2 separate regions of the Homo sapiens genome follow, and region 2 is linked to region 1. Evidence: promoter capture Hi-C in 16 types of primary human blood cells and fetal thymus (Javierre and others, 2016). All regions are on one chromosome and are shown on one strand. Each heading gives the region's core, a stretch centred on a gene start or on the middle of the fragment in contact. The rest is flanking DNA. Distances are from core to core; before and after follow the strand shown.

Region 1 (3,128 bases), core at 470-2,969:
TAGATGATACTTGTCAGCAAGAAAGATGATCTGAAGAATGAACAAAAATAGCCTCTGTTTAACAGCTGTGATATCTATAATTTATAAGCTGTGATCATCTCTCATCAGATTGTCTTGATGTTTGGATGAGAATGAATGTTTGAAATTTCTATATTTAGTACTTATCAGAAAACAAAGTTTTGTTGTGTCCTATTCTTTTTGATCAATACATTTCAATTTACATATAAACAGTGTTCAAGAGACTTCATGTTTGAGGAATGTGACCTTGAAACTCTACTGGCATGCAGTGCTATAAATGTTTGACTAATCCTTAATTACTTATCCCCAAACAGAATTTTTTTTTACTGTTTTAAAATTTTTTATTTCATTGGCAAATAAAAATTGTATATATTTAGTATGTATATGTTTTGAAATATATTGATTGTGGAATGGCTATAAGTCAAGCTAATTAACAAACATATTGTATACGAATCTTTTTGTGTGTGTGGTGAGAAGCAAATAAACTTTAATCACTGAAAGACAGAACAACATTAAAGAATGAGACAACATTAAAGGAAGGAAGGAAGGAGGGAAGGAAGGGCGGGAGAGAAGGAAGAGAGGCAGAGATAATCGCTTTATTACCTAATTCTTTGCCAGTCTTTTTTCTTTTTTTTTGTGGGGGAGGGTGGGGAGGTCAGTCTTTGAACACGCTGCCTAGGCATCATGCTTCTAATTTCCTCTTACCACTCTTTTCACTTCTATATCACATTTATTCTTCCTTTAATATGTGACCTTATACTGGCCTCGCCCTTCACAATTCCTCTGTCGCTTACGTATTTTACTTTCTGTGGGCAGAACATTGTTTCCCTTTCCACGTCTTTCCCATTTCCTTCTTGTACAGCTGTATCACATTTCGGTACTATATGTTTATATAAGCGCGTGGTAAAACTACATATTTATATAAGCATGTGCTAAAAAACACTCGAGCAAATACCGTGACTGAGATTTTTTGGAAAACTGTGGGCAAATTAGTTAAAATTGAGAGCTCTGGCGGAGAGGGTCTCTTCCATCTATAGGACAAAATAATTGGGAATTACAGAATAAGTAGAGGAGGACAATTCAAGAGAGCACAGAGCTGCGTGCATTCTCCCTGTGCCGCGACCTGTATCCAAAAGCCTCAGACGAGACTTGAGGAGCTTCCTAGAGGCTCTCCTGCCACTGCCCCTTTGGCCAGGGCCCTTCCCGCAGTCTCCCCTCCCGATTCTTCCCTTTTACAGCCCCTCGCTCCCGACATGCGAGGCCCGTCTCTTCTTCCAGTTTGACTTCCAAGTCTTTCCATTCCCTAGGATCGGGCCCCAGTCTCACCCCCTATTTTCACCCCCTTCGGTTTTCCTCAGAAAGGGCCTCCTGCCTCCCTCGGCACCCTCGCCTACCCCCCTCGCAGCACCTGTCGCCTCCGCCCCTCACTCGGACCCCGCGCATCTGGCGCAGCCCCTCCCGCACTCCCGCCCAGCGCCCCGCGTCCCCGGCCCCCGCTGTCGCTGCTTCGGGTTCCGCCGCAGGAGCCTCTCACTCCCGGGAGCGGGCGCCTCGCGCTCCCTCCCTCGGCCCCGCCCCGCCCGCCGCTCGCCCGTTGCTTCCCACCTGGGCCCGAAGCGCCCAGCGCCCTCTCCCGGGACCCCGCGCCCGCCCCGCGCCCCTCGCGGCTCGGGGTCCGCCCCCTCGCCCGCAGGGCCCGCTGCACTGTGGGTAGGCGGCGGCGGCGGCGGCTACGCGGAGCGGCAGGCGGTGGAGCGAGGCCGCGCGCGCCGAAGATGGCTGAGAAGCAGAAGCACGACGGGCGGGTGAAGATCGGACACTACGTGCTGGGCGACACGCTGGGCGTCGGCACCTTCGGCAAAGTGAAGAGTTGAGTACGCGCTCCGGACCGCTGTGCGGGGCTGCCTGACTTGCGGGAGGCCGAGGGGAGAGGCGGGAGCCCCGGGCCTCCGGCGGGCGCGGGGCTCGGCGGCAGGTGGAGCGGTCCCGGGTCGCGCGGAGCTGGGGCCCCGGGAGGGTGGCGCGCACCGCCTCGCCTGGCACCGGCGCCCGGGCCCCACAGGGTCCAGGGAAGAGGGCGGGGGTGTGAGCTGAGGATGGGCGTCCTGGGTTCCAGGTTCCGCGCCCATCTGCCTTTCTGGAGGTCGGAGCAAGGCACTTCTGTGTTCTCTGGACCTCAGTGTCCTCCTCTGCAAAATCGGGAGAACTGGACTCGTTCTGCGAGGCGCCTTCCAGCTCTGAGCCTGTAGGCTTAGGGCGGGGATCATCCACGCTACTGAGGACTGAGGCGCCGTTTCGTGCCGGGTGCCCTGTTAGGTGCTTTACATGGAATCTCATTGAATCCTCACAGTGACTTGGTCAACATGTTGTCCTCACCCTAAAGGTGAGAAAACTAGGACCCCTAGAGATGTAGTAACAAGCCCAAGGTCACACAGAAATGGTCAGTACCAGAGTGAAGTCTAAGATGTCCTCCAATTCTGGTCTTGCTGGGAGGTCCCTGCCATCCCCAGATTCCTTCACGTTCCAGGACTCTCGGTTGTTGGGGGTGACTGTTTGGGGGATGCTCCAGGGGCCAGAGGTTGTGAGTCTTTCTTCCTGGGGTGTTGTTTAACGCTGGAATGCAGCTGGATTGGGTCAGAGGTTAATTAAAACAGAGAGGTCTGAAGGTGTTTGTGTTTGTAAAATGGCTATGGGAAGACTTCTAGGGTAAGGGAGAGAAAAAGTTTCCTTGGTGTTTGGAGGATTTGAGGCTGAGGAGGTCAGGACTGCTAAGGCATATTCTGCTAAGGTCTGTCTTCATGGAGATAGGATCCCCTTTTGAATGTAGAAAAACAGGCTGCTTTTGAAATGTTATACTTTATTCGAGTTAAGTAACTAGTAAGAATAGTTAAGTATGGAACTTTCATTTGTTTTCTTTTTTGTTAATTAGTCACATGTGATTTAATTAACCTGCCTTCTCTCCAGAATAGAGACAGTTGTTTATTAAAAATACTTTGTTGCAAATCCAGAATTATAAGTGAAATATTGACCTTTATTTTTTCTCTTTGCTGAAGAAATGCTGGGTAGGCAGTCTGGAAATTTTATTCTGAGGTCTCTATTTCCTTGTAAAA
Region 2 (3,128 bases), core at 227-2,726, 1.4 Mb before region 1:
AAGAAAGAGTTGTGCATCTCTAACTTTAAATCTAAAGCTAGAAATGATAAAGCTTAGTGAGGAAGGCATCACGAAAGCCAACACAGGCTGAAAGCTAGGCCTCTTGTGCCAGTTAGCCACATTATGAATGCAAAGGAAAATTTATTGAAGGAAATTAAAAGTTCTGTGCCAGTGAATACATGAGTGATAAGAAAGCAAAAAAAAAAAAAAAAAAAAAGATAAACTTATTGCTGATATGGAAAAAGTTTTAGTGGTTTCAATAGAAGATCAAACCAGCCACAATATTCCCTTAAGCCAAAGCTTAATCCAGAGCAAGACCCTAACTCTCTTCCATTCTATGGAAGCTGAGAGAGGCAAGAAAGCTGCAGAAGAAAAGTTCAAAGCTATCAGAGGTTGCTTCATGAGGCTTAAGGAAAGAAGTCGTCTCCATAACATCAAAGTCGAAGGTGAAGCAGCAAGTGCTGATGGAGAAGTTGCAGCAAGTTATCCAGAAGATCTAGCTAAGATAATTGATGAAAGTGGCTACATCACACAACATGTTTTTAATGTGGACAAAATAGCCTTCTATTGGAAGAAGATACCATCTTTCATAGCTATACAGAAGAAGTCAATGCCTGGCTTCAAAGCTTCAAAGGGCAGCTGACTCTCGTTAGGGGCTAGTGCAGATGGTGACTCATTCTAAAGATCCTAGGCACCTTAAACATTCTGCTAAATCTGCAGTGCCTGTGCTTTGTACATGGAATAACAAAGCCTGGATGACAGCACATCTGTTAACGGCATGTTTTACTGAATATTTTAAGCCAACTTAGACCTACTACTCTGAAACAAAAACTCCTTTCAAAATATTACTGCTCATTCACAGTGCACTTGATCACCCAAGAGCTCTGATGAAGATGTACACAGAGATGAATATTGTTTTCATGCCTGCTAACACAAACACCCATTCTGCAGACCATGGATCAAGAAGTAATTTCAACTTTCAAGCCTTATTATTTAAGACATACGGATCAAGAAGTAATTTCAACTTTCAAGTCTTATTATTTAAGACATACATTTCATGAGGCTATAGATAGCTTTTTTTTTTCCTAATGGATCTGAGCAAAGTAAATAGAGAAACTTCCGGAAAGGATTCACCATTTTAGACGTCATTATGAACATTTGTGACTCATAGGAAGAGGTCAAAATATCAACCTTAACAGGAGTTTAGAAGAAGTTGAATCCAACCCTCATGGATGACTTTGAGGGGTTGAAGACTTCAGTGGATGAAGGAACTGCTGGTGTGGTGGAAATAACAAGAGAGCTAGAGGTGGAGCCTGAAGATGTGACTGAATTGCTGCAATCTCATGATAAAACTTGCAAGGATGAGGACTTACTTTTCTTATGGATAAGCAAAGAAAGATGTTTCTTGAGATGGAATCTACTCCTGGTAAAGATGCTGTGAACATTGTTTTAATGACAACAAAGGATCTACACTATTACATAAACTTAGTTGATAAAGCAGTGGCAGGGTTTGAGAGGACTGACTCTATTTTTTTTTTTTTTGAAAGACAGGGTCTGGAATTCCTGTGCTCAAGAGATCCTCCCACCTCAACCTCCCATGTAGCTGGGATTACATTTGCGTGCCACCATACCTGGCTGATGCCAATTTTGAAGGAAGTTTCCCTGTGGGTAAAGTACTATCAAACAGCATCATATGCAACAGAGAGGTCTTTTGTGAAAGGAAGAGTCGATCAATGTGGCAAACTTCATTGTTGTCTTATTTTAAGAAACTGCCCCAGCCACCCCAAGAACCTCCATCAGCAAAAAGATTACAAGTCACTAAAGGCTCCCATGATCATTAACATTTTTTAGCAATGAAATATTTTTAAATTAAGGTGTGTACATTGTTGTAGACATAATACTATTGCACACGTACTAGATTATAGTAACATAATTTTATATGCCCTGGGAAACTAAAAAATTCATGTGACTCACTTTATTGTGATATTCACTTTATTGCAGTGGCCTGGACCTGAACCTGCAATATCTCCAAGAGATGTCTGTAATTGAAGTGACAGTAAGAAGAGGGAAGGAATGCCACTTTCCTGTGTTGAGCTTGTTCTTATAGGGTCTCTTGTTCTTGTACAAAGCTGTGAGTCTAACCCATGCTGCACTGAGGCAGGATAGTATAGTGAGATGGAGACTCACAGATCTGGGTTCAAATTCTGGTTTTGCTACATATATATCTGCATGGGTTGGGGCAAATCACTTAAACTCTCCAAGGCTGATTCCCTGCAGGCTCCCACCCCTACCTCTTATAGAATGAAAAAGTGACACCAACCACCTAAGAAGCTTGGAGTAGTCAGTAAATGAGATTGTAGATGTATGCATGTGCGTTTGTGCATGTTTGTATTTATATAAGTGCTTAGTATAGTGCCTGGCACAAAGCTCAATAAACAGTAGCTATTGTTACTGAATATAATCAAGTGTTTCTTAATTTTCACATGTTATATGGACTTTTAGATTAATTCCACTGTCATCAGAGAACATATTGCAGATAGTTTGACAAGTGCTGAAACAAGGGAAATACAGGTTAATATGGGTGGAAATAACAGGAACACCTGACATTTAGGCAGGCTGCCTGCAGAATGATTGTAAGCATAAAACTGAAGGATAAGTGGGATATTCTGCCAGAGAAGGTGTGTAGGTAGGCGTGTGTGTGTTGGCCAGAGTAGTGGCTGAAGGACTTCAGCCTCATGGGGGAGGCCCATATGTGTAATTTAGTAGGTTCAGTGTATTTTAGTAAATGTTATGATGAAGGGAAGCTTGGGAATTTGGGGAGCACATCAAAGCCTAATGGATCTGCTTCATGAAGTTATGGGTATATAATGCTAAACAATATGTCCCAATGATTAAGCATGTGGATCTCAGACTTGGATTTGAATCCTCTTCTGCCTCTTAATAATCATTTTTCCTCGGACAAGACACTAACCTTCTCTAAGTCTCAGTTTTCTCATCTATACAATGGGGTTAAAAATCCCTGCCTTGTGCAATCAGTATGAAGTCATCTGAGATCATGTATGCCAAGCAATTAGCACAAGACAGGTATCAGGGCTCTGTTAGTGGGAATGGGTACGGGTTTTTACAAC

The links. Contacts are between HindIII fragments. The CHiCAGO score rates a contact against its expected background, and 5 or more counts as called.
Region 2: a contact is called between a fragment that was not itself captured here and the fragment with the promoter of PRKAA2 in region 1, in 1 of 17 cell types (fetal thymus). The highest score is 5.3, in fetal thymus.

What each region holds. Positions count from the first base shown.
Region 1 is chr1:56,643,595-56,646,722 of GRCh38, forward strand. PRKAA2 (protein kinase AMP-activated catalytic subunit alpha 2) reads left to right here and starts at 1,720. Exons shown (of 9, transcript NM_006252.4): 1 at 1,720-1,887. The coding sequence starts at 1,794. It overlaps LOC101929935 (a long non-coding RNA gene), which reads right to left and starts at 1,724. Exons shown (of 3, transcript NR_135111.1): 1 at 1,624-1,724; 2 at 1-30. The HindIII fragment of the contact is 10,307 bases long and covers 1-3,128 here.
Region 2 is chr1:55,280,241-55,283,368 of GRCh38, forward strand. No RefSeq gene overlaps it. Among named protein-coding and RNA genes, the nearest start is that of MIR4422, 56 kb to the left of the region's middle. The HindIII fragment of the contact is 1,705 bases long and covers 625-2,329 here.